Regions from separate parts of the Homo sapiens genome. Here regions 1, 2, 3, 4, 5 and 7 are each linked to region 6. The links are contacts of gene promoters, found by promoter capture Hi-C in blood cells and fetal thymus (Javierre and others, 2016). All regions are on one chromosome and are shown on one strand. The core of a region is centred on a gene start or on the middle of the fragment in contact, and the rest is flanking DNA. Distances in the headings are between cores, read along the strand shown. Region 1 has its middle 4.3 kb from the start of RIPPLY2. Region 2 overlaps RIPPLY2-CYB5R4 (RIPPLY2-CYB5R4 readthrough). Region 3 overlaps ZNF292 (zinc finger protein 292). Region 4 has its middle 46 kb from the start of SMIM8. Region 5 overlaps RIPPLY2-CYB5R4 (RIPPLY2-CYB5R4 readthrough). Region 6 holds the start of SNX14 (sorting nexin 14). Region 7 overlaps RIPPLY2-CYB5R4 (RIPPLY2-CYB5R4 readthrough).

Region 1 (3,311 bases), core at 465-2,964, 1.7 Mb before region 6:
AGAATCAGTCATATTTGGGCTGAGGTCATCAAAAAGGGTGGGGAAACACCAGGTTACATTCAAAGTGGGAGCCCAGTTCAAGCTCCAATTTTTCTTTTAATTGGTTACTGTTCTCTGGCTATACAGAAGCTCATATGAATGTTTTAAATGTGATCTTGACTTCTCTTTTTCCTCCTCAGGGACCATCATTTAGCACCCTTTCGCCAGAGTATACTTCCTTTCTCACATCTTATAGTAATGCAAAGAGCCAAAGATTAAAAAATAAATAAATAAATAAATAATAAATTAAAAAATAAAAATAAAAAAAGAGTGTTAGGCCCGCAAGCCCCAGGTATAAGGTAAATTTATAATATTTTCTCTTAGTAAAATACAAAGTTTGGTGGCACAGATGTCTGTTAGAAGGCAGCTACACAAAAATATAAGAATTTTGTCAGTTTTGTGCATTTAACATATCCCAAGATCCTAAAATCGTGCCTGGCACATAGTAGGTATTCAATAGTACTTGTTAAATAAATGAAGTTTTAAAAAATGCTTGTCCTAATGGACTATTAAGTTTGATCCACCTCATTGGTGTGTTATGAAAAGTGTGTTGATATGTTAACATAAAATACATTTTAAAAATGTACAAGTGGAACTCAGTATACAATTCTAAAGTAAATTTAAACTGTAAAATGAGTTAAGTTATACCTCAGATTATGTTATTTTATGATTCTGTATCTCTTTATATTTATTTTATAGAGCTTTACGTCCTCATATTGCATACAGCTTGGATAAGAAGTACATATCTATGTTCTAAAATAAATATAATGTCCCTGAAAATTGTACTGGTTTTCTCTTCTTTAGGCACAGCTTATAGTTAATATCCTCCTTAATGATTTAGCTAAGAAATTCCATCTTTGATGGAAATGATAAACATGCAAAAAAAAAAAAACTAAAAGAAAAATAGCATATTGATCTTGGCCTCATGAAAATCATCTTCAAGATCTGTATAAATAGGTAGCATACATTAAATTAACGTATAAATGGTAGGTTTAGGATCTTTCTAATAATTCATATTTCTGTTTCTCAGTTTACTTAAATTTGGTCAAGTAAAAATCTTGCCATATTTTTATTAATTGGTTCTCCTTTTTTTCTAGTAATGCATTTCTTTTCACAATTTTAAGACAACCGATATTTTCTCAGATTCAAGTCTCATCACTACAGTAGATCCCTCCTTCTCCATGCCAGAACTAGTCACCTTAATTAAACTTGTTTCCTGGGAGTTCCCAGACCTGGATTATTGTCGTCACTGATTCACACACTCCATTCTTATGAGGATTTTCTTCAGGGCTATTGATCTCATTTTTTCCTTCCTCTTTGGGGACCATGAACCATCATCCAGCCCCTGTCTCTTCAGAAGCATCTCCTCTCCTGCCTCCTCTCCTCATTTTCTAAACATACTTTTGTCTGCACCCTAAAACCAAGATCCCTTTATGGACCCAGCACTCTCCCTCTATTTTTCCTCTCAAAAGAGTAGCTCAACTCACTGTTTTGATTTCTTCTTCACCTCTAATCTACAACTCAACTTGCTGTAAAAAAAAAAAAAAAAAAAAAAAAAAGGTTCTGTCCCTATACAGTCAAACGATATTGTTCTAAATTCACTTATAACCCCTTAAAGCGGTTATATTGCCAAATCCAATTAACACTTGTCCTTATCTTATGTGACCTCTTGGTAGCCCTGACTGCGTTGGACCTCTTCTGCCTTATTGGAGTTCTTTCATCCCATGTTTCCACCACACCTGCTTTACTAAAGCACTTTCGCACCTTGCTTTACTGAAACACTCTCTTTCTCTTCTTCTTATTCCTCTTCTTCCTCTTCTTCTTTTCTTCTTCCTCTTCTTCCTCTTCCTCTTCTTCTTCCTCTTCTTCTTCTTCTCCTCCTCCTCCTTTCCTCTTTTCTCTCTTTCTCCTCTTTCTCCTCTCTTTCTCTCCTCCTTCCTTCCCTCCTTCCTTCTCTCTCTCTCTTTCTCTCTTTCTTTCCTTCCAGTCTTGTTTTGTCACCCCACTGCAGCCCCAACTTCCCAGGCTCAAGTGATCCTCTGGCCTCAGCTCCCTGAGTAGCTTGGACTACAGGCATGAACCACCATGCCTGGCTAATTTTTTTAATTTTGTTTTGTGGAGATGAGCTCTCATTATGTTGCCCAGGTTGGTCTTGAACTCCTGAGCTCAAGCAATCCTCCCACCTTGGTGTCCTAAAGTGCGAGGATTACAGGAGTGATACACTGTGCCTGGCCTACTGATGCACTTTCTACCAGCTTCACCACTCCTTTTCAGTGAGATGGATTTTTTTGTTTGTTTGTTTGTTTGTTTGTTTTATTTTGCATATCCTCTCACCTTACAATCAAATGTTGATCTCTAGGCTACTGTCCTTGGTCCTGGACTCAAGCTACAAAATTTCCCTGGGAAAACGAATCAATTCCTATTGTTTTAATCGCCATTTTTTTTTTTGCTGATGACTCTCACATTTAAATCTTTAGCCTTAAATTATCTACTAAACTCCAGACCTCATGTCTCTGGTTGTCCCCTGAATATCTTCTCCACCTACATGTTACTGAGCCTTCCAAAGTCTCAGATCTATTCTGAGTTCTTTTCCTTGGGGTGACTGTATTTTACATGTAGGAAGGAAGACAAACTGAATATTTAGTAGCCAGAAGGGCAGATTATGGCACTCTTATATGTTGTTTATTTCTGTTTCTCCACTTTCTGAACACATGGTAGAATTGCACTTCCTTGCTTTTTGAAATTGGTGTGTCATGTGACTTGTTTTAGCCAGTGAAATGTGTGTCCCTTCTAGGCAGAAGCCTCTGAAACCTGGTAGGCAAATAATTTTATTCTTTTCTCCTTGTACATTCCAGCGGGAAGAGGCTCCATCAGCTTACATCCTTAAGTGAAGATGATGTAGAGCCGACCTCACACCAACCAAAAATGGATGTAGGGCATGAGTGAAAAATAAGCCCTTGCTATTTCAAGCCTGTGAGATTTTTGCATTATTTGTTACCACCAAATAGCCCAGCCCATCCTGACTGATTTAAGATTCAAAACCAAACTCATTATTTTTTTCCTGCACATCATTAACAGAATAAAACAACATAAGAGGATCTCACCTGCTCTTTATCCTATGCTCCCTGTTTTCTATGTCTGTGTTTGAGCCATCACCATTTACTCACTTAATCGGGCTAGAAACCTGGGAATATATCCAGACTCCACTTTCAAGTCCTCCTACATTTTATGACTCAAGTAGTTCCTCAGGTTCTATTTCCTAAGTATCCTTC
Region 2 (2,948 bases), core at 200-2,699, 1.7 Mb before region 6:
GAGTTTCTTCCTCAGAAACAAGACAAAATAAGTCAGTTTTCTTAGATGTGAGCTCACCTCCATTGTTTGCATACACATGCCAAATAGTTTATTAATCTACAATTTTTTAAGCTGAGTGGTGCATCCAGCCATTCTGGATGACTTGCAAATAATGACTGACACTTCCTCTCCCCCGCAAAAAAGTTTGGCATGGTGGTCACTACTGACATAAAATGCATGGTGCTAACTCTGACTGAACTATATTGATGTACATTTAGAAACATTTTTTTCTTTCATTTGCAAAAGCAAGTTACAGAAATGCAACTAACAAGCTAGATTGCCAGATGAGTTACCTTTTTCTTTGTTAACTGAAATAGTCTATATTGTGGACTAATTTATGCAATTTATAGTACCTGTAGTTGTTCATCGGATAATATAACACTCTATTAAATGAGGGACTGATCTTTGGTTTCGTCTGATGATTGACTCTTCTGTGGCACTACAAAAGCAACCATTGCTTAATGATTGATTACCGATAGACTAGGCATTTTCTTTCCACCACATGTGGCTTCCAGAACCTGTACTTTTCTGTTGCCTTCTTTGGATGCACTGCATTTGACTAATTTCTCAGTAAAAGGTGGCATTAAGTATGGAATATAGCACTCCACAAGTGATTTGGTTAGCACTGTTACCTCTTGTGACCTGGACCCTGTAAGATTGGAACATATCTGTCTATCTATATATTTATTAGCTGCTTTTCCCTTTTGGCTCATTTAAGTCTATGTGGTATGTCTCTGTATTTGCAAATGTGATCTGCCTGCATTCTATGTTACTATTCCAATAGCTGCTTAAAATACTGAATGGGTTGGACTACTTTCCTATTCCACTAGAGACCCGATCCCTTCAAATTGACGACATTCAATCAACCAATACTTATGGAAGGGAGAACATGCATTCAGTCCACCTTGCATTACTTAATTATTTTTTTTCACTACACATTCACCCCGTATTCTTTCAACTTACTCAAAATAATATTATGTAAAGTTTGAGGGTTTTTTTTGTTTTTAGTTAGTTTTAAATTAAGATATATTCCATGGCTTATTATTCTGTTTTAATAAGATATATCTTAATTATACTAAATAGTTTTTTAGAATGTTTGATTATTGTCTCATTTGCTCACCCATGAGATTGCAGGGACCATTTCATTGCTATTAATAGTTCCAATTTGAGGAAGAGGAAACAGTGGCTTGCATAAAATCACAGTACTGGCACCGAGCTTAAGTATAGATTTTCTGGTCCTAATTAGGTCATACAAGATCAATGTTGACTTACAATTTATCAATTCTGTTTATAGCGTTTTCTTACAGAAATTCTTAGATTTTGATGCATTTGATTTTTATTTATATACTTAAGAGACTTCCAAAAGAGAAACAACATTAATCTCTGAAATCTTTCAGTGCTTCTTAATTTAATAAGATTATTTTGTCTTGCTTTTACCATATTAGAAAAAATACATTTAATTCTTGTAGTCCTCTCTTGTTTTACGTGTAGTTTTGTAGTAGAGCACTCTTCTTTTAGTGCCCACTGCTAATTATTAGTTCACAACTCTGACCTTGTTGTCACATCTCTGAGGCTTCCTTTGTTTATTTGAAAATAGTGTTCTGCAGAGTTATGTGGGAAGAAATGGAAGCTGAATGAGTAAGGCCTGGACTCAGGGCTCACCATCAGCCCATTCAGAAAAATATGACTGTTTTACATCTTACTTGCACTTGAGCTTGTCTTGAAACAAAACGTTTGTGTCTAAAAAGAATCTTGAAAACCTCTAAACTGTCTTGTCCCAAAGGTGTCTTGCAACTCTTAAATTTATATCAAATACTTTGATTTCTAATTTGGGCACCCAAGACTCAGCAGATACTAACCATTAATTTTTGTTCCTGTATAGTTTGAAAAATAGTAATATAATTGATGCAATGATTTTCAAAAGTCATGTAGCAGCAGTACTTCTTTTTTCCAAACTAAATCTTACCATATACAAACAATGCACTTCTATTGTAGGGGGGAAACACTTAATGTTTGCAATATCTTGAGTTCTTCCATGCCTCAGAGTTTTCTGAAGTCATTTAAAAACCATAGCATTAGTGGGCTTTTAAAATGCATCATACACCCAAGATGCATTTTGTGGGTGTACATACCCACAAGAATGCATACCCACAAGAGTGAGTAAAATGGGAAAAGACAGAAGACCACATGTTGGTGAGGTTGTGGAGCAGCTGGAACTTTCAAACACTTTTTACTGTGGTAAAAAGTGTAAATTGGTACAACCACTTTGAAAAGCCATTCAGTAGTATCTTCTAAAGCTAAACATACAAACACCCTTCATACTAACCAAAAATGTAGATATGTGTTCTTTAAGAATATGCATGTACCTGTAAAAGAATATTTATATCAACACTGTGTATAATAACTCCAAACTGGAAACAACCTGAATGTTCATCAACAGGAGAATGAATAAATTGTGAACTATACATATAAAGTAATACTGCTCAGTTACAAAAAGGACCAAGCTGATGAATTCAGTAGCATGGATAAAATTTCAGAAAGCCTAGATTTGATTTATTGCTTATTATTTATCATGCTTATTTCACATAAGAACTGTAATGTCTAGAATATTGGACAAAAAGCCAGACTAAAAGAGAACATGTGTTATCATTCTACTTATATAAAGTTCAAACACAGGCAAATACTAACCATGGTGTTAGTAGTCAGAATACATGTTACTCTTGAGGCAGGGGTGGTGATTGAAAAGGGGGCATGAAGAGAGTGCTGACTGCAAGGGTATGTATGTTTCACTTTATCACGGCCTTTTGGCTAAGATCAAGTGAAAATATATTGAGTAGTACATTTGTGATTTGTATCCTTTTATGAATATATGTGATATTTCACTAAGAAGTTAACTTAAAAGACAAAAA
Region 3 (3,287 bases), core at 528-3,027, 1.7 Mb after region 6:
GATTTTGTAGTCTGTTGATGGAAACTCAAAACCAGTAGCAATATTATATGGGTCTTTCTACTAGAGTGGAATCTTGAATATCCAGTGAGGGTACATTGCTTAGTGCAGTGCCTGGTATAAAGTAGGTGCTGAATGAATAAAAGAAGTGGGCCATAATAACCCACTTGTCTATTTTCGTTACTCACTTAGTAATGGCTAAAGAGGGAGGAGAGAGTGTTCCTAGTCACAGAAAAAAACACATAAAGTAGTATCAAGACAAATGAGAGAATGGAATATTTGGGGAACTACAGGTAGCTCAGTTGTTTGAGTAGAGGGAAAGATAAAAGAGGAAACTAGAACAGATGAGGCAGTGGTCAGACTGTGAAGTCCTTTTCGTATTCCACACTAAGGTTTATATTTCATTCTGAAATACATGGTAATTATTTAAAGAGTTTTAAAACAGGGTAAAGCATGATGTTATGAGTGGGCAGGGAAGAACTGAATGGGATGTTACATGGGAAACTGAAAGCAACATGCAAGCCTTGGGTGGCTTTAGGTCAAGGATACTAGGCAGCCAGAGGGAAAGAACAGAAAAGGCAATGGGAAGAGGGTACAAAAGACAAACCTTTCTGTTTTCCAGAACTTACCTGGTGCTGTTCTTTTCCTGGAAAGGGATTGAGTTTCTGTTCCTCCTCTGAATTAATGTCACTTAGCTTTCTGTTCCTGTGACTCATCAATTTAAGCTTGTGCTATTAGTATTTGTGATTAACTGTTATGAATTAAATAGATTTTTATGGGCAAATCACTTAATTACATTGTCTTTATAGAAAATTGTTGTGAATTTTAATTCAACTTTTAAAACTTACCTGCTGTATAGCCAGTTTATGATTTGAATATTGCCTGTTCACTTATTTTCAAGTACACACATGAAAGGTCAGAAGGAAAAAAAATTGTAAAATATAGTTTCTTTTGTTTCATTGTCATTAATGTAAAGGTTTCAGGTTTAATTATAACATGAAAATGTTTTTAAAGCAAATTTATTGAGGCTCCTCACCCTTAATGAATCAAAATGAACCTTTGAATTTAGTTGCAGACTGGATTAGAATAGAATGTCAGTGGAATTCCCCTTTTAAATAATTTTAGATGTGTCTTGTGAGCAATAAGTAGAATTCTTTAATCAGCTTTTGCCATTCCTGGAGAAAAGGCTCAATATTCATATGATATAAAATAGTTATATTCTGCAAGACAGATACCCTTCATCCAGAAATCCTTCATTCTCTGAATCCTTTCTGTTTGTTGTTTGTTTTTTTTTTGTTTTTTGTGTTTTTTTTGAGACGTTGTTTTGCTCTCGTTGCCCAGGCTGGAGTGCAGTGGTGCAGTCTCGGCTCACTGCAACCTCTGCCTCCCGTGTTCAAGTGATTCTCCTGCCTTAGCCTCCTCAGTAGCTGGGATTACAGGTGCCCGCCACCACGCCTGGCTAATTTTTTGTATTTTTGGTAGAGACTGGGTTTCATCATGTTGGCCAGGCTGGTCTCAAACTTCTGACCTCACATGATCCACCTGCCTCAGCCTCCCAAAGTGCAGGGATTAACAGGCGTGAGCCACCACACCAGGCCTCTCTTAATCCTTTTTTAAAATTTCTCCATCATTTCCTGAATTTCTGAATAATCACACTGCTTCTCAGAACTTTCACCAGTAAGAACTTGTACCAGTTCTTCTGACATTATTATATGTGCCTTCAGTATTACTTTTAATCATCTTTATGGTTTACTTGGCCCTTAATTCCTCCCAGACTTCTTTCTTTGTGTCTTTCTGTGTGTAGTATGCAGCTTCACAGACCACAGGTGATTTTTTTCTTTCTTGCATATCGTAATAGAGGAGTGGCCTAATTGTTCACCATTAGCAGCCCCTTAAGGCATGTAACAGAGATGCAGATGTTTTACTGTACAAGTTTTAAGGCACAGATCTATCTAGGAATAGTATAACATATACAAGTTTATATGAAATCAAGAGACACCCATATGGTCCCACTTCCTTCCCAGTTTTCATCTTCCCTGTCATTTTTTATTTTTTTATTATTATTTTTAAGAGACAGGGTCTTGCTCTGTTGCCCAGGCTGGAGTGCAGTGTGCAATCCTAGCTTACTGCAGCCTCGAATTCCCAATTTCAAGCAATCCTCCTGCCTCAGCTTTCTTTGTAGCTAGGATTACAGGCACATGCCACCATGCCCAGCTAATTTTTTTTCTTTTTTTTTTGATAGAGATGAGGTCTTTCTGTATTGCCTAGGCTGGTGTCAAACTCTTGGCCTCAATCAGTCCCTCCCACCTTGCCTTCCCAAAGCACTGGGATTACACGCATAAACCATGAGCCACCATGCCCAGCCTTTTTTTTTTTTTTTTTTTTTTGAGACAGGGTCTCACTTTTGTCATGCAGGCTGGATTGTTGCAGTGGTGCGATCTCTGCTCACTGCAGCCTCAGCCTTCCAGGTTCAAGCGATCCTCCTTCCTCAGCCCCACAGGTAGCTGGGACTACAGCTGCATACCACCACACCTGGCTAATTTTTGTACTTTTTATAGAGATGGGGGTTTCCCTATGTTGCCCAGGTTGGTCTCGAACTCCTGAGATCAAGCGATCCTCCTGCCTCGGCCTTCCAAAGTGCTTGGATTATAAGCATGAGCCACCGCACCCAGCCTAACCTATCATTTTAAAAATACGTCTCTTCATACTTTTCTTTCTATTCATTTTCTTTTTGGTCATTGTGCTCTTGCTGTTTCTAAAATCAAGACCAATTCAGTATCCCAGGCTCCTTTTCCTTTTTAGTAAAAATACTAAAATACTTTTGCCCTACAAGTTTAAGCTTCTGATTTAGTAAAATATTTTCTTCTTAACTTAATGAAAATAGAGGCCCTATCAGTTCTCTCTACTTATTTTCTTTGTTGCCTTTTGATCCTGTATCGTACATATTTTATTCCAGTGAATGTGGCCACATCCTGTGGCTATCTTATTTCTCATTTATCATTGTTCCCTTCTGGTCTTTAAAACCCATTTTTATCTCTTTACTCCATGTGTCTTTCAAATGACTTACCTTTGTTATTGCTATCTAATAATAATAGTTCAAGATGCTAATTCAAAAGAAAAAGTTTGTTGGGCTATGTCTACCCCTACTCCTAATTCTTAAGCTGGTCCAGCCATGAGGTAGGTAATTTGACATTTGGTTTTATGATAGCACTAGAATCTCCACTATTAGGGATTAGTACCTTATTTTATAGAAGCAAACTATTTCTTTCAGTACTGATCAGTTTGGAAAT
Region 4 (2,998 bases), core at 353-2,852, 1.7 Mb after region 6:
GAGAAATGGAAATGAGAAGCAATTGTGCAGGAATTTAATGGACTCTGACTAGAGTAGAATTCTCTAGTCAGTGTGAATTGGGAGGGTTATAATAGAAACTTGTAGTCAGAGGTTTTGTTTGCTACCAGGTTCTTTTTGTTCCCCAGAATAGCTATGAACATGGCAAAAGAATGTTCACTGTGCAAGCTGCACTTACACTGTCTTTAGTGCTACCACCCATAGGTCTCCTGGATCCTCCTCTTCCCCTGCGTAAGTTGGAGAAAAGAAGTGGACACGATGATGATGGCCCTCATGTCCCTAGGTCCCTCTGTAGCAGTGAGGTGTTCAAGAAGCCACTGGGCTTTTGAGGACACAAGTGTGTTTCAAACTATTCAGGAGCAGATCACACCAGGCAGTTCTTCACTGGAGATGTCTGTGAGTCATCCTCTCAAGAGGAATGCCCCCTTCTTGCCAAGTCAGATTTGCTTCTTTTATACAGAGGCTTTAACATGTTTTCTTTTTTTGTTTCTTGTTTTGAGACGGAGTCTTGCTCTGTCACCCAGGCTGGAGTGCGGTGGCGCTATCTCGGCTCACTGCAAATTCCACCTCCCGAGTTCACACCATTCTCCTGCCTCAGCCTCCCGAGTAGCTGGGACTACAGGTGCCTGCCACCACACCTGGCTAATTTCTTGTATTTTTAGTAGAGACGTGGTTTCACCATGTTAGCCAGGATGGTCTCAATCTGACCTCGTGATCCGCCCACCTCGGCCTCCCAAAGTGTTGGGATTACAGGCCTGAGCCACCGCACCCGGCCGCCTTTAAGATGTTAACCAACTCCTTGACACTTAAGATTTGGATGGGAGAAGGATATACAGAGAATCAGTCTTGTTTATGTTTTTTCAGTACACTTTTACATTATCCAAATACTTAAGTCATTCTTGGCAATCCTTGTTTGCTACTTCCAACCCTATTAAAACTGATCGGCTCATTAGATTTACTTATTTGAAGATTTTAAAACCTCAGCTGCAGCAGTACAAAATTTTCTCTCAAGCATGTGTACTCTTAAAGGAGAATTTCTAATCAAGTATGGCAGTTGGGTGTTCATTTATGCAGTTTAAAATTTGATCCTCACAACCACCCCTGCCCCATAAGAAGAGGAAAATTAGCAACCCCATTTTATAAAGACAGTCACATGGGAAAATTTAAAGACTTTTAACAGCAAACCTATGAAATAGGTCTCTGGCCCCTAGTTCAGAATGTTCTCCATTGTCCTGGCTGATGAGTGTATTGCCATTTATTTCAAGGCAGAAGAATGAAGCTTGAGATTGTCAGAAATATATAGGGAAAGTTTTTAGGTTTTCATTGTAAATACAGGAAGTAGTGCAATACACTTCTCATTTCAGTAAATAAGGCAAAATTAGAAGTTATGTCATACATTAATGTCTTCAGTTTAAAAAGTCTTATCACTATAAAATGAGAAACAAGTAATTCTAGTTTATTTCAACAAAATCTTGAGGACCGTATGAAAGAGAACATCTGCTCTGCCAGAAGTGAAAAGACCAGAAACCTAGAATGCTCTGATCATGATGTGCTCTTAGCAGCACAAAATAGAGGCTGGTTGGCTCTGTGTAATCCTTGAGCTTTAGGTATGTGTTGTTCGGACTGCCTTTCTCTAAGCTGATATCCCTGACAATGAGAGAAAAACTGAATTTTGATTTTAAAACTATAATCTGGAACCCAGCATTCCTGTGGCCTAGCTACATTTTTTTTTCTTTTTCTTTTTACTGACCAAGCTATAACCTCTAGGCAGCTTTCCTTGGAAATACAACATTGAAGCAAAGGGCAGACACGCTCTCTTAGAGTTTTCAAGTCTCATACACAGAATTGGGCCCTCAGTTACAAAGTGCCGAGCTCAAAGATCCTGGAAGAGAAGCTTGGGAAGCCCAAGGCTGAGGACTGGCTCTAGATAGAACAATAGGTAATATTTAATAAACAATCATGTGTCAGCAACTGTTCTGAGCTCTTTGTATGGCAATTCATTTCTCATAACTAAGAAAGGAATTAGCTACCACTGGAGGTAACTCAGTCTTATTTGTGTTATCACCATCTGACTATTCCAAGGGACCAGTGTGTTCTTGCTGAGTCAGGTTAACAATCCTAGATACTGCTTGAAGGAAAATTTATATAGTAGTCAATAGCGTGTGTGTGTGTGTGTGTGTGTATGTACACACTATATACACACACCTTCAACAAAGCAAACATTGTGGTAGATTTTATAATCCTGTCAGGGTAGTGAGAAAGACCATGTCACCATTTGGCAAAATTTACATTCAAATCCTGTTACTACCTTGCTTTCTCTTCTTTATCAGAGGCCATATTCATATTGGCTTCATCAAAGTTACATACACTCCTTTTCAGCAAACGTGTATGCATAATCAATAAATATTCAGATGTTCTTTGAGCACTTTTCTCAGAATATTTTTTTTAGGTGATTTGCTTCACTTGTAGCTGGAGTTGGGTCTGGAGTGAAATTGGAAGTACAGTAACTTACATGGCTCCATATGAAGTAAGTTTAAAAGTGGAGGTGTGTGATGAGTGTATAAAGCTTGTCAGTTTCATAGGCTAACTTAACATACATGTTGCTCAGTTACTGAATTGCACAGGATTAAGAGGCCACAAGATGGCAAACTAACACTGGAAAGGAGTATGTACAGTTAAGGTCTGAAAATTGAACCAGAAATTACCTTCCCATTTTTTATTTATATTTTAAAGGGGACATGGGCTAATATGTGGTAGTCATTTATATTTTGGGGTACTTAAACAGTTATTAAAGTACAGGTTTTTTTTATTGGGAGATGACTATGACACTTTAGCTATTGGTCCATTTTAGGATTAATAGACCAGCCTTCATAATGGAAAAAGGCTAAAGCCATCATGTTTTGATTATACATATTTAGTTATCTAATAAGCTTTAAAGAAAAGTAACGGTCATTATGTGGATATGCCAGTATTCCAAAGA
Region 5 (2,976 bases), core at 67-2,566, 1.7 Mb before region 6:
TTCATATGCACTGGGAAACCAAAACATTAGTGTGACTTGCTTTATTTGCTTTACTGCAGTGGTCTGGAACCAAACCTGCAATATCTCTGAGGTACACCTGTATAATAAAGCACGAAGAAAAAGCATAAAGTTTGTTTTTTTATGTTTGTATTTCTCTGCCACATCCAGGGGTCCAAGTTTTTAGTTGTTCAGAAATACTTTTGAGAAGGAAAAAAAGGGAGATAAGGAAGGAGAGAAAGAGCAAAGAAGAGCCTCTGAATCAGAAGAAATGCACCTGTTCTGTTTTGGGGCTAGGTTTAAGTTTCATAATTAGCAAATTACTAACACAGCCAAGTGCTTTTTGATCTAAAGCATCTTGGACTGAGACACTATTTAACAGTGTTAATTCCTTGTGGTAAGGGATAGACATTCCTAGTTTTTTTCGTCTGGAAAGCATGGGATACTACTCACGTCCACGGAGTGATCCTAGCCCCTATCAGAAAGAAAGATAAGATTGTGACAGTATAAGGGTCAATGTAAAGGGCTAGCAGGTTAGCAGAGAACATGTATGGAATGTTTTAGGCTTTATGTGCTCATCATGGATAGCTATTTAAGCTACCAGAAGAGCTGGTTGCTGAAACTCGTGGAATTCCATCACAAATGATCATGGGTTGTAGATTTCTTGTTCTTGAGAAACTGTAGAACTCCAGTCAGGACTTGATTGTAGAGAAAGTTTGGAACTCTTGTTTGGGAGGCATCCTCTGTCTTAAAAAAGCCTATTGGGAGTAATTCTGATCCTAATCATTACCACTCACGTTTTTGGTCTCTGGATTTTGGAGCATTAAACAATGGGAAAAAATTCTTCTAAATCTTGTGGGACTCTAGGCATATGGGGAAGGAAAAAAGAGGGAACTTAACTAGTTTTGTTCAGACTTATTTGGAATGCTGCTGAAAGAAATTCTGTGAATTTACTTCCTTTTGTGCTTACCTTTAAGAGACTTTATAAAGCTGGACTGGTTGGTTATTTTCTAATATATAGCTGGTCAAAAAACTGCAGTACTTTTCTTGGGTCTGAAATCCAACCTCTTCTTTTCTTCCAAGATTATTATATAGGATGAACATTTTAAGTTATCTGAGGTTATTTAAATTCATGGAAGTCATCATATAAAGAGGAAATAGTCCTGGATATTTAAAAAAAACCAGTCGTTGTTATTGCACTTTCGTGATGTCTTTAGGGCTAGATTTGTCTGGTATCTATCTAGTTTTCAAGAATGAAAAAGCAACTTACTTCCTTGGGAGAGCTGTGCATTGAGATATTTTGTGTTTGTTGTTCCCTATTCCTTTCTTAAAAGATAAAAATAAATAACAGTTGAATAGATGAAAGAAATATTTGGAGAAGACAAAATGATTAAATTCTGAATAATAATCTTTGAGAATAGTTGGGCTTCCTTTTCACAGAGCGTGCCTAAGTGGTCACCATTGCTTAACCTTTGCTGAGATGATCAGAGACGTGGATTAGAGCTTGATTCTTTTTTCATCAGATTCTTCTACCAGGGCAATATGGAAATGTTATGTCTGTAGTAGTCACTTTCTCTCTCTCTCTTCCTCTCTCTCTCTCTCTCTCTGTGTGCGTGTGTGTACTTTCAAAAATTATATACACAGTATTTCATTTCTTTGTGTTGGGAGACAATTTTCTTTTGCATTTTTGCATGTCTTGAGAGTAGAGGCACTGTCTTTTTGTACAGTCTTTTAAAGGATATTTGCATTGTGAACAACCTTGAATGTTAGTGTCTCCCTCTAGAAGAAAGGACAGCTTTGCTTACTCTTCTGTATAATAAATATCTCCCTCAGGAGCAAGGGCAGGCATGCTTATAAAAGATTCCAGTTTCCTGAGCTCAGAGTTCCTCTTCTGTAATGCAGCGCATTAAGTGTACAGGTGTTACCTGGCCCTCTTCACATAGCACTCTAGTGAATTAGAGTTCAGTGAACTGACACAAATGTTTATATTCTGACTACTGCTATTGATGTGAGTGCTAAACTCTTCTTTGTCTCTGACCTAGGAGTCTCTTGTTATCTGCCAGGACCCATGAAAGTGGCAGGTTAAGTTGTTTGCTTGCAAGTGTGATGAAATCTCAGATCCTTTACAGTTAGTTCTTGATACTTTGAAATAACAGTGATTAATTAAATGGAATGTATTTGGAAAGATTTATTGAAACTTATATTTATAAGTTTTACAATTTTTGAGAAGTTCATTTAGGATATTATTTCTGTTTGCTTTGGTACAGGTTTCGTTTATAATGTCAGCCCTTATATGGAGTATCATCCTGGTGGAGAAGATGAACTAATGAGAGCAGCAGGATCAGATGGTACTGAACTTTTTGATCAGGTAAGATGTGCTGAAAGTAACCAAAGTATTCCGGTGGAAGAGTACTCAGATTTATCAGTGTGACATTTGTAGAAAGAAAGGAAATAGTTGCATAAATTCCAGATGCATTGGCTTGAATTTTGAAGTGTGGGAAGATGCTCACAAGTAGCAGCTGTTCATTTAATTTGCCCTTTGAGTTATTAAAATTTTAGAGATGTTTCAAATCTGCGACTAGGGGTCTTCTTTTAAGTGTTCGCTGCCTCCTTTGTTGGTAAGTGTTTATTCAGTCTTGATTAGTTTTGATAATGATCGGCTTATGGGAGGTAGTGACAATTGGAAGAAGGAACATTGGGATCCGCTGCTAACTTGCTGAATCACTTTAAACAAGTAACTTAGCTTCTTTTCTGTTAGTCCTTTGTCACCTAGGGATTGCTATATATTCAGCCTACTGCTATATACTGAATTTGCATGTCATGTAGAAAGTTAGCCGATGGTGATTAATGAATAGAAACTTATTTTTCCTAGCATGATGGCAGAGATTCTGTATAGGTTATCTCAAAAGATATTTAAATTAGTCACTTTTCCCCTTATATTTACTAAAAACTAGCATTAGCTCTTAAACTATTTTAAAG
Region 6 (3,349 bases), core at 473-2,972:
AAGGATCCCACTTCTCCCACACTCCTACAGTTCAAACATCTCACCATCACAGAGCACACTTCTCAGTAAAACATCAACTACTATTTAAGCTCAATAATATTTAAACCAAGAATCAACAAGAAAGCAAGGCCACTTTTAGGGAAGAAATCTAACTTCAACATAGTCACAAATAATGGTTACACCAGAGAAAAATGAAGTTACCAAATTCCTTGCGCATTCCTCCCTGTTGCTATCCTTGGGAATCAACTACCTTAAGATAAAGAGTAAGAATGGTTGCCTGTTCAAAACATCAGAGAAAACAGCTTGCGGATGCTGTCAATGAGAACTATCTCAGATTTCTTTCCACCAAAAGCAAATCTGGTGTTAATTTTAATGGAAAAGTCTCCTCTACTACCTATTGCATCGCAACAATTTCTTGAAATAGTAAAATGAAGTAAAACAAGTTTATTTCGGGGGCAGAATCTTCTGATTTCAAAATGTCAATTGAATTTATCAATTTTAACCTTTCGGAATATTTCAGGTTTTTTTGGGGAGGGTGGCATCAAGTCCTCTTAAGAATATTATAGGGATGTGGCCGGGTGCGGTGGCTCACGCCTGTAATCCCAGCACTTCGGGAGGCCGAGGCAGGCGGCTCACGAGGTCAGGAGATCGAGACCATCCTGGCTAAAACGGTGAAACCCCGTCTCTACTAAAAAAAAAAAAAAAAAATACAAAAAAATTAGCGTGGTAGCGTGGTGGCGTGGTGGCGGGCGCCTGTAGCCCCAGCTACTCGGGAGGCTGAGGCAGGAGAATGGCGTGAACCCGGGAGGAGGAGCTTGCGGTGAGCCGAGACCGCACCACTGCACTCCAGCCTGGGTGACAGAGCGAGACTCCGTCTCAAAAATAAAAAATTCTAAGGATGTTGGGACGGGTACCACTTTGCTTTCTGATTTCTGTCCAACAAATCTTTATGATCGTCTGTTTTATTCAACAATACTGCGGGAAAAGCTTCAGCTGCAAGCTGAGGGGGTGGGAGGTGGGGAGATGGAAGAACGCGCTGCAGGTGTGCGGATTCTGCCTAAAATTGCGGCTACGAACTGGACCTTGAACACTCCTCCGTCAGCTGACTTGACTGCCTGTGTACAGTCTCAATTTGAGCCGACACACGGATTTCACTTTTGAAAAGCAACGAAGATGAAGAACTCGTTTTGAGAAATGGATGAGAAAAAGGTAGCTCAGGAGACGAAGCCTCGGGAAAGGAGGCAATCAACCCCACCCCACCGGCCTGTGCTTCCGGCCTCGACGCTCCGCCGTGCTCCCCGAGGCCGCTCCTCTGCGGAGCTCGCTCTCCCCACTGGTCCCCAGTCCCGCAGCTACGCGGCCTCCGCACGGTTAAGCAGCACGGGCCGGGCGTCTGCACCTTCGGAGAAAAGCCGCCGCCCAGGCTCCGCGCTGCGGCGTTACCTGTTAAGAAGCAGGGAGGCGGCGCTGAGACAGAGCAGCAGGAAGCAGAACAGCGGGTACTGGCGGCAGATCTCGCGTCCCACGTCCAGTCGCAGCCGCTGCTTCAGCTTCTGCCCCATCGTCCGCACCCAGGGCACCATCTCCGTAACGGCGAGGCCGAGACTGCGCTACTGGCTGAGGCAGAGGTCAAGGCGACCCCCCATCCACACCTCGCGTCCCCGCCCCACCGACTTGGCGGCGCACACAGACGCCTACCGGCAGTTAGCCGCCGCAGGCTGAGGTCGCGTCCGGCTGGGCCCAGCCCCACGCCCCCCGCCGCGCGTGCGCGGCCGCGGTCCCCAGCCGACCAGAGGAACGGCCGTAGAACGTGCCCGAAGTCGTCACCCAGCGCAAAGCCTCTAGCGTCTCGCCGCTCCGCCCTCCTGGCCGGAGTAGCGCGCAGTCTTCCGTGGAAACTCTGACAACACTGGCGACCGGCCATTTCCGGAAATCAAAGGACAGCCCCAGCACCCAGTAACTGCCTGTATTGCGGAGGAGAGGGAAGAAGGTTGTAGGGAGCCCGGAAGAAACTACAGCACCCCCGTAGCCGCCGGGCGCTGCCTGAGGGGCAACCGGAGCTCGTGGAGCCCGCTGGGAACTGTAGTCTTCGTGACACGAACCCGCAGAGGGATGGAGCGGGTGGTAGCGCTTCCCCGACCCCGCAACGCTCCGCGCCTCACCGTACACTCGGCTCCGGGTGGGAGCAGGTCCGAGCTTTGCGTGACGCCTAAGGGAGAGGGGGATAGGAGGACGCCTTTGAGTCGGTATTTTAAAAGGGGTGTGTTGGGGGCTGGGGGGGTGGCGAGTAAAACAGCCCTAGAATAAAGACTACAACTCATCAGGCCGCCACCCCACCAACAAAATCTCTTTTGCGCGCTCACGGGCAAGGGTAGAGCTCAATTCACGCCGGCTCCGGGAGCCCAACCAAAATCCGAGTGCTTGGAAGAGGCAGGTTGGCAGATTAGGTAAAATCCCTCTTATAGAGTCTCATGGGGTTTTCCCTTTACTAATTCATCACATTTCTAAATTTTTTTTTCTGTATTGTCCGCTACAGTGAGAGATGCAGGAAGACTATTATCGCGAAAATTTACTTAGGCGGTACAGACACTAAGCACTTTCATTTGACCTTCATGCATTCACCCCATGGTGTAGGTACAGTACTATAGTTTCAATCATTATACAGGCAAATTACTGAGACAGAAAGGAACTTAGGATCATAAAACTAACAAAGCCGGAATTTGAACACGTTCTAAAGACAGAGCCTGTGCCTGTCATCTCTCTTTCCTAGGATCTTATCCTTCAAAGTGGGGAAACAAATGTTTTTTAATGATGTATGTAGTTTCATGAATATTTTCCCGTATTACAAAAACATGGATCTTTAATGATGCATTATTATCCTTTATCAGAATGTACCATCCTGTTCCATTATTGCTAACCACTAAAGTCCATTGATATTACCATCCTTGATGATAAACCTATGCACATTTCTAATTATTTAGAATCAACTTTAATACAATTACTGGGTCAAAGGGTAAAAACAAACATTCTTGATACAGTCAAACTGCTTTGTAGAATGGTGGTACCAACTCCACAGTGGTGTATAAAAGTAAACAATTTCACTGATCCTCACGATTAGCTATTATTGTCTAAACATCACAAATACACTTTTCTGTTTGTGACTAAACCATTTAAAAGACTACAGTGTAACATCATTGGAAAGCTTACCATTTTTTAATATTTCTAGGTACATATTTAAACATTTATTAATTTCACTTTGGCAGTTTTTAAGTATCTTTATCTGTTAATACTAAAATAGGTGTATGTTGAGTGGATCTACATGTATCAAGTGCCTCCTATGGACTTGAGT
Region 7 (3,154 bases), core at 331-2,830, 1.7 Mb before region 6:
ACATTGTTGGTCTTACTGCTCTGTCCTGAGTGGCTGGCACATAGAGGCCATTGACTTGTATTTGTTCAATGAGTGTAACACTTACTTTTAAGAAGTATGGTCACTTAAAGAGGTATCTGGTGGTTTTCACAGTGGATTGGTGATATCAACACCAATAAATGCTGTATTAATTTCCTATGGATGCCGTAACAAAGGACCACAAACTAGATGGCTTAAACAACAGAAATTTGTCTCATAGTTTTGATGGCTAGAAGTCTGTGATTAGGGTGTCAGCAGGGTTCGTTCCTTCTGATGACTGAGTAACAATTTGTTCCATGCCTCTCACCTAGCTTCTGGTGGTTTGCTGGCAATCTTTGGAGTTCCTTGGCTTATAGAACATTACCCTAATATCTGACTTCATCTTCACGTGGCATATTCCCTATGTGCTTGTCTGTGGTCAGATTTTCTGTTTTTATATGGACCCTAATCATACTCGATTAGGGACCTCCCCTACTCCAGTATGACCTCATTTAATTTTGCATCTGTAACAACCCTATATCCAAATAAGGTCATATTCTGAGCTACTGATGGTTAGGACTTCAACCTATGAATTTGGAGGGGGACACAGTTCCACCCATAACAGACACAATTAGAGTGTGAAATTTTCAGTGGCAAAGGGTATGGAAACTTCCAGCAGGTGATGACGTAGTTTATATTGAGACATAACAGGTGTTCAGCTCCCCAAAGTTCCTCAGAGACCTACAAATGTGAATGGTACCAGCAATCTGGAATGAGGATTCTGGCAGGTGCAAAAAGATCCTTTTGACATTTTATAGGGTTTTTGCCACCCTCTTTATCCTTCCTTCATGCTCCCTATCTGTTTACCAGCTGCAAGTAACTGGTACAAAATGACTTCCCCATTGTGCCTGAGTGTTTTCTGCTAGATAGGGTGAAGTCAAGATTAATTTCCCAAGAACACCTTTCAGCTGGCCCAGGCTGCAGGCATGCCTGAGTTCTGTTTCTGCACTAGGAAACCACTTTAGAAAACTTGATTATGTGAACCCTTCATATCCTAGTGATATTAGATAATTGAGGCATTATTAGAATACAGTTAGACTTTATTATTCATATGATGTATTGATGGGGACAAGGGACTGGATTGCTGTGTTTGAAAAGTGATACAGGTTGAGTATCCCTTATCCAAAATGCTTGGGATCAGAAGTATTTTGAATTTGGGATTTTTTCAAATTTTGGAATATTTGCATTATATACTTACTGGTTGAGCATCCCAAATCCAAAGACCGGAAATTTAAAATGCTCCATTGAGTGTTTCTGTTAAATATATTGGAGCTCAAAAAGTTTCAGATTTTGGAGCATTTCAGATTTATGAATTTGGGATACTTAACCTCTACACTGCTCCCGGTTCCATATCCTCTGTAATGATTTGAATGTATAGCACCTCGTCTGGTAAGGTGGTTGAATTAATCATGGTTTGTTTTTTTTTTTTATAAAGGAGACAGGATCTCGCTTTGTCCCCTAGGCTGGAGTGCAGTGGCTTGATCTTGGCTCACAGCATCCTTGACCTCCTGAGCTCAAGTAATCCTCCTGCCTCACCCTCCTAAGTAGCTAGGATGACAAGTGTGCACCACCATGCCCAGCTATTTATTTTTTATATTTTTCTAGAGATAGGGTCTTGCTCTGTTGCCCAGGCTGGTCTTGAATTCCAGGTCTCAAGCAGTCCTCCTGCCTCAGCCTCCCAAAGTGCTGGGATTACAGGCATGAGCCACCATACCTGGCCATGAATTTTTTAGAGGTTTCTGCTGGGGAACATGTTCTACTCTATCTATAGTAAGATGTTTTCCCCTCTTTGTAGAAATAAGATGTGTCTTTTTTTAAATCTTTTTACAGAGTTTGGTCTTTTATTTTATCAAGAAATACTCAGTTTAGACCCTGCTGATGGAGGAAGGATAAATTATTGTTAGCAGGCAGAGTGAAGCACCTTAAGAGGGCTACAAAGTGTAAGTGATATCAGACTGTTGGAAGGGAGACACATGAGTTAGGAAAATCAGGGATGCTTTTGTGGTAGAGATAAGCCTTGAAGCAGTAGACAGGATTTCAATAGGAAATGAGGAAGTGCACTCAGGTGGAAGGAAAGGCCTGAACAAAGGTACAAACACAGGAAAGTTTGAGGTGTTCTGGAGCTTAGGTTAATTGTTGGAGAATTATAAGAAGGAAGGCTGGAAAGGTATGTTAGGTCAGATTGTGGACAACCTTGAAAGCCAGACTGGGAAATGTGTTCCTCATATAGATGGCAGTGTGTACTCTTGAAGGGATTTGAATGTGGGGACAGTGTTATAAGAGTATGCCTTGGAAAGATTAATCTGGTGGTAGGTGTGGTGAATTGAAATAGGGTAAGGAAAGCATTTATCTTCTTACAGAAGTTCGGATGATAACAGGAGGTGAACCAGGATGTTGACAAAGGTCATGGAATAATAGGATGAATGTGAGACAAACAGATTACTGGTAACTTCTAGCACGATCCCAATGAAACTAAAATTACATGTGTAAGGGAAATGGCTGTGCTTTAGTCAGGAGTAGGCCGAGGTGGCCTGTATGCACAGCATGACTCAGCGGGTTTGGAGCGCAGGCACATAACCTCGCACATTATGTAACCATGTCATGTGAGCTCGTGCTTGGCTCTGAGTCACTATTGTCTGTAAAAAGTATAATTGCCCTGCTTACGCTGTACATACAGCTTGCTCACACCCAGTGAGAGAGTAAAGCCATGTTGAAACTGTCTGCGATTCCTCAAGTGTTTTTCCAGCTACCCTCCACTTGCCCACCCACTCCCCTCAGACCTCAGTTAGAACCTGACAACATGACTAAACAAAATTACCTTTTTCTTCACAGCTGTTCTAATTTAAAATATTACTGATAGCTTCTTAATGGGGGAATGTGTGTGCCAACTTTAGTCTTGAAGGTTAGAGATAGTGTTTGGACCCAAGTTTTCATCAAAACTGTGCCACAGGGAAGCATGGTATCATAGTGCCTTTTTTTTTTCCCTTTTTTAAAGTACTAATTCCTTCATTTTGTGACAATTGCCCCATTTTTAGATTAGGTCTGAATTCAACTGATCACAATGTGGGAGACACAATCAGTTTCTTCAGGAAATCTT

Evidence for each region. The method cuts DNA at HindIII sites, captures the fragments that hold promoters and counts their contacts. A CHiCAGO score of 5 or more calls a contact.
Region 1: a fragment that was not itself captured here is called in contact with the fragment with the promoter of SNX14 in region 6 in 2 of 17 cell types (total B cells and naive B cells); the score reaches 10.7 in total B cells.
Region 2: a fragment that was not itself captured here is called in contact with the fragment with the promoter of SNX14 in region 6 in 4 of 17 cell types (non-activated CD4 T cells, M0 macrophages, neutrophils and 1 more); the score reaches 7.6 in non-activated CD4 T cells.
Region 3: a fragment that was not itself captured here is called in contact with the fragment with the promoter of SNX14 in region 6 in 3 of 17 cell types (naive CD4 T cells, activated CD4 T cells and total B cells); the score reaches 6.8 in naive CD4 T cells.
Region 4: a contact is called between a fragment that was not itself captured here and the fragment with the promoter of SNX14 in region 6, in 1 of 17 cell types (total CD8 T cells). The highest score is 6.5, in total CD8 T cells.
Region 5: a contact is called between a fragment that was not itself captured here and the fragment with the promoter of SNX14 in region 6, in 5 of 17 cell types (total CD4 T cells, monocytes, naive CD8 T cells and 2 more). The highest score is 8.9, in total CD4 T cells.
Region 7: a fragment that was not itself captured here is called in contact with the fragment with the promoter of SNX14 in region 6 in 14 of 17 cell types (naive CD8 T cells, non-activated CD4 T cells, total CD8 T cells and 11 more); the score reaches 29.2 in naive CD8 T cells.

Annotation. Positions count from the first base shown.
Region 1 is chr6:83,847,408-83,850,718 of GRCh38, forward strand. No RefSeq gene overlaps it. Among named protein-coding and RNA genes, the nearest start is that of RIPPLY2, 4.3 kb to the right of the region's middle. The HindIII fragment of the contact is 5,957 bases long and covers 1-3,311 here.
Region 2 is chr6:83,915,010-83,917,957 of GRCh38, forward strand. All of the region lies in intron 7 of RIPPLY2-CYB5R4 (RIPPLY2-CYB5R4 readthrough), which reads left to right. All of the region lies in intron 5 of CYB5R4 (cytochrome b5 reductase 4), which reads left to right. Among named protein-coding and RNA genes, the nearest start is that of CYB5R4, 57 kb to the left of the region's middle. The HindIII fragment of the contact is 5,635 bases long and covers 1-2,948 here.
Region 3 is chr6:87,250,859-87,254,145 of GRCh38, forward strand. All of the region lies in intron 7 of ZNF292 (zinc finger protein 292), which reads left to right. Among named protein-coding and RNA genes, the nearest start is that of SMIM8, 70 kb to the right of the region's middle. The HindIII fragment of the contact is 2,114 bases long and covers 721-2,834 here.
Region 4 is chr6:87,274,675-87,277,672 of GRCh38, forward strand. No RefSeq gene overlaps it. Among named protein-coding and RNA genes, the nearest start is that of SMIM8, 46 kb to the right of the region's middle. The HindIII fragment of the contact is 615 bases long and covers 1,296-1,910 here.
Region 5 is chr6:83,891,258-83,894,233 of GRCh38, forward strand. RIPPLY2-CYB5R4 (RIPPLY2-CYB5R4 readthrough) reads left to right here. Exons shown (of 18, transcript NR_174604.1): 5 at 2,265-2,365. CYB5R4 (cytochrome b5 reductase 4) reads left to right here. Exons shown (of 16, transcript NM_016230.4): 3 at 2,265-2,365. Among named protein-coding and RNA genes, the nearest start is that of CYB5R4, 33 kb to the left of the region's middle. The HindIII fragment of the contact is 6,192 bases long and covers 1-2,976 here.
Region 6 is chr6:85,592,136-85,595,484 of GRCh38, forward strand. It overlaps SNX14 (sorting nexin 14), which reads right to left and starts at 1,723. Exons shown (of 29, transcript NM_153816.6): 1 at 1,444-1,723. The coding sequence starts at 1,583. RefSeq lists enhancers at 214-799, 800-1,383, 1,384-1,967, 1,416-1,585, 1,896-2,015 and a silencer at 1,646-1,865. The HindIII fragment of the contact is 2,215 bases long and covers 986-3,200 here.
Region 7 is chr6:83,865,142-83,868,295 of GRCh38, forward strand. All of the region lies in intron 4 of RIPPLY2-CYB5R4 (RIPPLY2-CYB5R4 readthrough), which reads left to right. All of the region lies in intron 2 of CYB5R4 (cytochrome b5 reductase 4), which reads left to right. Among named protein-coding and RNA genes, the nearest start is that of CYB5R4, 7.0 kb to the left of the region's middle. The HindIII fragment of the contact is 7,321 bases long and covers 1-3,154 here.